Linked DNA regions of Homo sapiens: region 1 is linked to region 2. Evidence: promoter capture Hi-C in human tissues and cell types (Jung and others, 2019). All regions are on one chromosome and are shown on one strand. The core of a region is centred on a gene start or on the middle of the fragment in contact, and the rest is flanking DNA. Distances in the headings are between cores, read along the strand shown.

What was found. Contacts are between HindIII fragments. The study calls those that stand out against the background at their distance.
Region 1: a contact is called between a fragment that was not itself captured here and the fragment with the promoter of MMP20 in region 2, in 1 of the 25 tissues and cell types used here (mesenchymal stem cells).

What each region holds. Positions count from the first base shown.
Region 1 is chr11:102,571,489-102,575,918 of GRCh38, reverse strand. No RefSeq gene overlaps it. Among named protein-coding and RNA genes, the nearest start is that of MMP7, 43 kb to the right of the region's middle. The HindIII fragment of the contact is 3,164 bases long and covers 1,450-4,430 here.
Region 2 is chr11:102,623,838-102,627,878 of GRCh38, reverse strand. It overlaps MMP20 (matrix metallopeptidase 20), which reads left to right and starts at 2,547. Exons shown (of 10, transcript NM_004771.4): 1 at 2,547-2,685. The coding sequence starts at 2,560. The HindIII fragment of the contact is 4,717 bases long and covers 2,156-4,041 here.

The DNA.
Region 1 (4,430 bases), core at 1,782-4,281, 52 kb after region 2:
AAACAGGCTGGCAATTTCTTAAAATATTTAACGTAGACTTACCCTATGACACAGCAATTTCACTCCTAAGTATATACCTATGAGAAATTAAAACATGTCTACACAAAAAACTTGCACATAAATGTTCATAGCATCGTTATTTATAATAGCCAAAGAGTGGAAAAATGTCCATTGAGTAATGAATGAATACGTAAAATGTGGCAAATTCAGACAACAGAATGTTATTCGACAATAAGCAGAAATGAAGTCCTAACACATGCTGTAACATGGATGAAGCTTGAAAACATCATGCTAAATGAAAGAAGCCAGACAGAAAAGGTCACATATTGTATGATTCTATTTATATGAAATGTTCACAATAAAAAAATCTATGGAGACATAAAGCGGACCAGTGCTTGTCAGTAGTTGGGGGAGGGGGTTATAAGGAGTGACTACTAATGGGTATGGGGTTCTTTTTTTTGGGATAATGAAAATGTTCTAAAACTGATGATGGTGATGGTTGCACAACTCTGTGAATATATTAAAAGCCATTAAATTGTACACTTTACATGAGTGAATTATATGTTATGTTAACTATATCTTGATAAAGCTGTTACATTAAAAAAAAGAAGGAGATCAAAGTAGTGTGATGATCCATGGAGGTCATGCATTCTGGCAACTGTGTCAGGGACCACATGACAATGAAGCACCAGCCTGAGGACATCCAGTGCTGCACGCAACCAGCCAGATGTCCTCCTCATGTCCAGCACTAGCCCAGAATCGTGCATACAGAAGACACTTCACTAGTCAATGAATTCACTGAAAGCAATAAAGCATATGCTCTCAGGTCTGACTGATGGATTCAAACTCCAGATCTTCTATTTTCAACTGTGTGATGTTGACCAAATTCCCTCATCCTCATTCTCTGTCTCAGTGTCTTCCTTTATAAAATTGGAATAATGGCAGTTTTTATCTCCTAAGGATATTTAGAGCCTTAAATATATGAGTCAAAATATGCAAAGTAGTCCCTGGCACTCTACAGGGGCTCTATAATTGTTGTTTTTGAAGCCATTAGAGTTCATTTTGTTTGGTGATATTTTGGAGAATTTGTATATGTCCCTTGAGATAGCTAAACATCTGATGAGCTATAATATCACAAGAATTGATAATCAATGACCTGAAATTTTTCTCTTCCAAATGTCAAATTAAATCAAATAATTAAAAATACTATGTTTATCCCCCATCTCCAAAAAATAATTCTTATAAATCATTATTTTTTGTTGAGTTAAAGAATTCTTGGCTTTTAGGCCAGGCATAGGGGCTTACACCTGTAGTCCTAACACTTTGGGAGGCCAAGGTGGATGGATCACTTGAGCTCAGGAGTTTGAGACCAGCCTGGGAAAGATGGTGAGACCCTGTCTCTACTAAAAATACAAAAAATTAGCTAGGCATGGTGGCGCATGCCTGTGGTCCCAGCTACTTGGAAGGCTGAGGTGGGAGGACCACTTGAGCCCAGGGGTCAGAGGTTGCAGTGAGCTGAGATTGTGCCACTGCACCAGCCTGGGTGACAGAGCAAGACCCTGTCTTAAGAAGAAAGCTCTTTGCTCTCAGATATAAAATTAGTATGTATTTTGGAAAAATACAGTCTCTCTAAAGCACAAGAAGGTGTGATTGTGTCATAACACAGAGCACTTATCCTCATATGATACAAGAACGTTGTGCAGAAATAATTTATAACATAAACTACTCATTTGACTTCAGAGTAACTGAGTGCAAACATGACTTATTAAATAACAGTTTTGGACAAAGTGTGGTTGAAGTACTCCCTTGAGGATCACGAGGTAGCAAAACAGAGTTCACTTCCTGATGAATTCTATGCATTATCCTATTAATCTCAGTGATGACTCTTTGTGGGCTGAACCTTTGAAAGCACTACACAGGCTACTAAGGATGAATGGATTCACCTCCTTGGGGAGCTTTCCTAACAGCTCCATATTAAATTTTCTCTGGTATAAACCAAGCCCTCTTCCATTTAGCCTAGTCCTAAATGAAAGACCTAAGTTTGCCTTTGGGTCTTCTGTTTCTTTTCAAATGTTTATTGCAAAACACCTTAGATGTCCATTTCACAAAGCAAATGGCAAAAAAACTATGCAGTTTTTCATTCAGAATTCTGTGTATAATATTTTTAAATGCTCACAGGGTCTTCAGGGTGCTTTTATTTATATATTATCCAGATGTTTTTCTTTATTCCTGTTAGTTATTTTTCTTCTACAGACAATGATATTGAAGGTTCTTTGTGAATATTCATAGCTAAAATTACCCAATGAAGTGCCATTTGAGAGGAAATGCATACTGCTGGCCAATAGGTTGGTGTTTTAGACTACCATAATGGAGCTTAGAAGAGTCCAAGCCAAAAGATCGTCGGCATTTCTCCCCAGTAGGTCTGGGTAAAAAGTAGAAACAGCATCTTCTGATCATCTGTCATCTGCCAAGTCTCCTGTCTTTGGTCTCATTCCAATCCCTACGTGGCTTGTCAACATGATCAGTTTAAAAGGTATCCTGTTATACTCAAAATGTCATAATTTCAGGTTTGCTCCCAACACCTAGACCCTTGGAATTGAACTAGAAGCAGAATTGGGAAGCTTGCTGGTAAATAAATTACAATGGGAAATTAGTGAATGGCTTTGGGATCCAAAATAGGACTCTTTTTTTTTTTAATGCAACATCTCTTCATTTTAATGTCTTCTCCATTAGTCTTAACATTCTTTCCTTTAATCTAATGTATCATTTAACATGTTTGGAGATGAAAGTAAACTTTTGTTGCACAATGCAGCATGTTGTTCTGACAAGAGTTTGAGGAGAGATGAGAAGAGAAAACATGGGAGGGAGTTAATGAGAAAACAATTGCAAAACATCAGTTAAGAAATGTAACGCTTAAGTCCATCTCAGATCATTTGCAGTGAATGTCCATAAAAAAAAGAATGTCTGTATAAATAGTTAGCAATTTGTTTATTCTTGGAAAGTCCCAGGTCTGTAATGCAGTGATAAACAATGTGAGTTTTTGAGTTGGGTATTAAATGTGTTTACAGCTGCCTCTATAGAGAATGGATGTCAAAAGTCCCATTACAGCCCATTCCACTTGAACTGCAGACTGCTCAATGATTGTAGCATGTCACTTTGCCAGATTTTAAATGTATTTCCATATATGAATCAGCAATTTCTGTGAGTAATTTTATCAGTGGTTTCTTTTGAAATGCTTAATTTCTAAAATTAGTTCATCTTTACAAACAGCCAATTCAGCCTTTTTGAAGGATCTAGCTACCCCCCCATCTCTATCCTTAATATTCACTCTCAATTCACTAGAAAATAATTACTAAGCGCCTACTTTGTGCTGGCACCAACCTATGCTCAGCTGCTTTCTTGCATAAACTCCTGCCCTCAAGGAGCTTACATTCCATTAAAGAGACACACAATATTCAAATGAATAGAGATCTATAATGAAAGATAGTGAAAGTGCTTTGAAAAAATAAATAAAGCAGTGCAAGTAATAAAGAACGTTGGAGTGCCATTTTATAAAAATATGTTTAGGAAAAGGACATACTGGGTCCAGGGTATTCATGCAGAATAACTAAAGGGAGGGAGGAAGCTGTGGAAGTCTCTAGAAGTTTCAGGTAGAAGAAGCAATAAGCGCAAGACCTTGAGGTAGGTAGGAAGGATCTGCACCTGTTTTAGGCACACCAGGAAGGCCAGTGTGGCTGGAGACAGTGAGGGAGAAGGAAAGTAGAAACAGATCAGATCAGAGAAGCAGCTAACCAAGCTATGGAAGCCTTGCGGGTCCCTGTGATAAGAAGGGTTTTCAGCAGGTTCATAACATGATCTGACTGCTGAGTAGCAAACAGATTATAAAAGCACATGATGGATTCAGGGACACTAGACAGTGCCATTTGCCAGGGTAAAAATGATGGTGGCACTGACCAAAGAAGTGGCAGTGAAAATGCTAAGATTGTCAGATTGAGGAATATTTTCAAGGTAAAGCCAACAGTATTTGTATCTAAAGTGCATGCAGAATTTAATAAAAAGAGAAGGATCCACAATGACTCCAACGTTTTTGGCCTAAACAAGTGAAAGAGTAGTGGTGAAATGGAAAGACCAAAGTAAGAGCAGGTTTACGGGGGCTGGAGGTCAAGAGTGTAATTTTGAATTCATTGAGTTTGAGATGCCTATTACACATCCAAGGGGAAATGTCCATACATAAAAAGCTTAAGTAGGTAGATAGATATAAAAAGCTTGAGTTCAAGGAAGAGTTTGAGACCCAATAGAAATTTAGGACTTAAGCCTTAAATTGTTATCTACATTCCTTTTGATTTCCTCCACATTCTATGTGGAATTTAGGACAACGTAAATCATTAAAATATAAGAAGGCAGGTGAAAAATGATCTCAAGATTTTAAT
Region 2 (4,041 bases), core at 1,298-3,797:
ACTTATTTAATCAGTGGTATTTTCCCTTTCATATTTCTCTGATAGGATCTCTCATTTCATTTTCTTTTAGTCATTGACTTGCTTTCATGTGATTTTTTAGATTTCAGTGATTTGGGTTTCAATTTAGAGTTGATACAAGAATGATAGAAAGAAAGCAGACCTTTGCTCCCCTGTGAAGAAAGAAAAATCAGGAAAAGGAAATCATAGTGAGGAATTACCAGGCATTTACTCTATTATTCTCTCTCTAGAAAGGTCAAAGATGTTGCCTAGTGCTGACTCTGAGGTGAAATTTAGTCACACTAATATATAAATGACTTATAAGAACATAAATTGTTATTCCTCTTCAAAATTTTTGCACTTGATAATTAAAATGTTGCACTTAGGAACATTGGGATTGATTGCATTTGTGTGTTAGAAAAGTGGATACTGGAACCTTCTATAAGTATGTAGATCACACCCTATAGGCAATTATTAACTTCCATGTGCTTCCAAAAACAGAACCTAGAATACTCTTTAGAGTCCTAGAGGTGAGAATATTTTCTCTCTATTGGTCCCAGAATTTCTTACCGTCATTCCTTCCACTCCAATGTTCACTTCCATGTCTGTCTTTGCTTTGGGGCCATCATAATGAATTGGAACAGTGTTTAAAGGAGAGAAAAAGGGAAGAGGATGACCAGTTGAAGGGAAGTTTCAAAGATTCTTTTTGTTCTTCAATTTTAGCAGCTGTTGAAGATAAGGCTCTAGAAGACAGGAGACCATATAAATGCAAATTTTGAAAAATTATTGCAATATCCTATTCCTTTCCTGAAACCAAAAAGCAATGATTAGTATATGTTTGTACATTCATTCATTCTTTTTTTTTAACAAACTTGATTAAGTAACATTTTTTAGAATACAGTCTTCAAACAGCTTACAATTTAGTTGAATGAATCTAATCTGTGGTTTTCTTTTTTCTTCTTCTGAGACACATGTTTTGTCTATCTCACAGTACATGCCAGAAATTCTGTTTGCCTGTGTGTATTAGTCCATTCTCACACTGCTATAAAGGAATACCCGAGACTGGGTAATTTATAAAGGAAAGAGGCTTAGTTGACTCACAGTTTTACATGGCTGGGGAGGCCTCAGGAAACTTAGAATCATGGTGCAAGGCAAAGGGGAAGCAGGCACCTTCTTGACAAGGCAGCAGGAGAGAGAAGATCAATGGAGGAACTTTCAAACACCTATAAAACCATCATATCTTGTGAGAACTCACTCATTGTCATGAGAACAGCATGACGGAACCACCCCCATGATCCAATCCCCTCCCTCCCTCAACACATGGGGATTACAATTCGAGATGAGATTTGGTTAGGGACACAGAGCCAAACCATATTAATGTGTGACAAACTCTTGTTCAGTGCCTGGGGTTGTACACTAGATACCAAACATTGGCTGTAACTCCACCATCTTCTCTTCCATGCAAAGAAAGCATATCAAAATGCAACAGAGTGAGAAAGACTATAGGAATTCACTGTATTCACTATAGGAATAACCTTGAATTTAGTCTAAAATCAAAATTAGGATTTGAATCCACATCTAGTGGATGCCAAGTGGTGCTTGCAGATGTCATGCTATATGTGTTACTCCATAACACTGAAAAGTTTATACATAGTAGTAGTATTGTCAGTCTTTTGTAGATTAAAAAAAACTTGATATTCAGAGATTAAATGACATACCCAACATCACACAGCTAGGAAATATCTTTTTAAATATTTAGTCTTGCTTTGTCTGACTCTAAGTGCTTTTCCCACCATATGACACCATTTCACCGTATCATCTCTGGATCCAAATCCATCTTAATCAGACCCAGGAAAAACAATATGACTCCAATTAACCAGAGTACACAGAGATTGGGGAGTTCTGGCTATTGTTTTGGTTAACGAAGACGTAACTCTTGCCTTAATTCATCCAAAAGCTTTCTAACAGTTACCAGTTCACTTTCCACCCTAAGTCAGCACAGTATAATGTAATCTTGCCTTGATGATTCAGGATCTTATGTGTCTCAGAGCCATCATTATGAACAGCAGTTGCTACTAAGAAATTTTGAAGTGAATGCAGGAGATACAGGCGATTGGGTTGAATGCATGGGGAGTTTGGGATTACTTGGAGGACAAATTCAATTATACTGTAATCATCTAACTTTTCTGTAATCAGAATGGAAAAAGGCCCCCAAATGAAGACTAATCAAATGTTTCAGTTGAGTTGGGTTCAAATCAATCAAGTTTACTTCAATTTTTGTAACTAGCTGACCAACTTCATTAAAAGTGACTGTTTTTCTCCTTTTGCCACTTGGTAAATAACAAAAAAAATATGAAGCTTTCCCTGATTCCTGTGTACAGTTGTGTTACCCCATCATCAGGGAGAGAAATGAGCTGTATAATTACTGTTTGAGACATGAATCATCCTTGCTCGGAGGGTCCAGACCTGTTTGACTCTATAAAAGGAGCTCAAGGTCGAAGTGCAAACGTGCACTGTCTGCCATCCCCCAGGCTGATATAATTACCAAGCTACTGTGAGGGGATGAAGGTGCTCCCTGCATCTGGCCTTGCTGTCTTCCTCATCATGGCTTTGAAGTTTTCCACTGCAGCCCCCTCCCTAGTTGCAGCCTCCCCCAGGACCTGGAGGAACAACTACCGCCTCGCACAGGTTTGTGAATTTTTGCCCAATTCCTTCTTGCTCCTCTGCCCTAGAAAACCTAAAAGGGCATAGTGAGAAAATAAGAAAAAAATTCTATTGTTCTTTTAAAATCATTTTATATAAGTCCATTGAAGTCTAACTGATGCTATCTTCTGTCCACCTAGATTGGTGTCTGGTGCATATTAGGTGTACCATGTTACATGACTGAATAAATACATGAGGATATATCTACCTAGCTATCTTGCTTCATAAAGAATTCCAGGTGGCTTGTGAAAACCATGCAATATAAAAGGAGCAAACAAGTACTTCCCGGGAATGATGTAGGAGGAAAAATAGAAGCAGAAAAATAAAAACCGAGGCATAATCCACACGCTAGAGGCAGGTTGTGAATTTAGTGCTAAGCTTTAGCGGTCACAACAAGGAGATTTCCTGTGTTTCCACTTTTTAAATGGCTCTTATATTCAAGGTAACCCTGATCAAAATTTAAAGTGGACTAAGTTCTTCCTGGGTGCCAACCCACTTCTCATTTGAAGGCCTTTTCTCCCTAAAGCATATTCCCCAATGAAGTAAAAGTTTATGTACAAAGTACATAACAAAGTTTATGTAGTAAGTACAAAGTACAACGTTTATGTACTTAAACTTTGTGTATTTTCCTCTTTTGAGATCTCTCCTCTATGACTGCTGGAAAGGGTCTGATAGAAATGATCCATATTCAAATATTTCACAAAGACTGCTTGACTCAAAATGATTTCTACATATATATATATATATATATATATATATATATATATATATATATATGCTTCCAAGCGTGTTTTGTTTTTAAAAGAAGGGTGGCATCCTTAACCTAAAGAAATGGATGTCTACGGATGGAATTTCCAACATTAGTGAAAGATATATAGAGGAAATGCTTTTGCACACAGGCCTCCCTTTCAAGAGTCTGCCAACATTACAGCACATCTGTGATCACCAGCTCCGCCTCAGGGCTGCTTTCCTGACTGCCAGGCTGCACCTGTGTACCGCTTGGCTGTCTGCATCGTAGAGCTGATTTGCACCCATGTGCAATGGCATGTCCCTACCGATTGTTTCTGCCACTCATCCTTATTAACTGGTCAGTTCCCCGGCCATACCAGTCATTAAACACTTAAATATCAGCCCCGCAGATGAACAGCACAGCTGATGCCCAGCACAACCATGTTGAACTGAACTTCTTTTGACTTTAGCCCACTTTTAGATGAACTAAATTCAAAATAACTCAGGATACTGGGATCCTTATTCAATTGTATTTTGTCCATGCCACCTAGCTTTAGGTGCCTTCTTCCCAAATGTAATTTTCCCTACCCTGCCTCATGCCACTGTGATTCT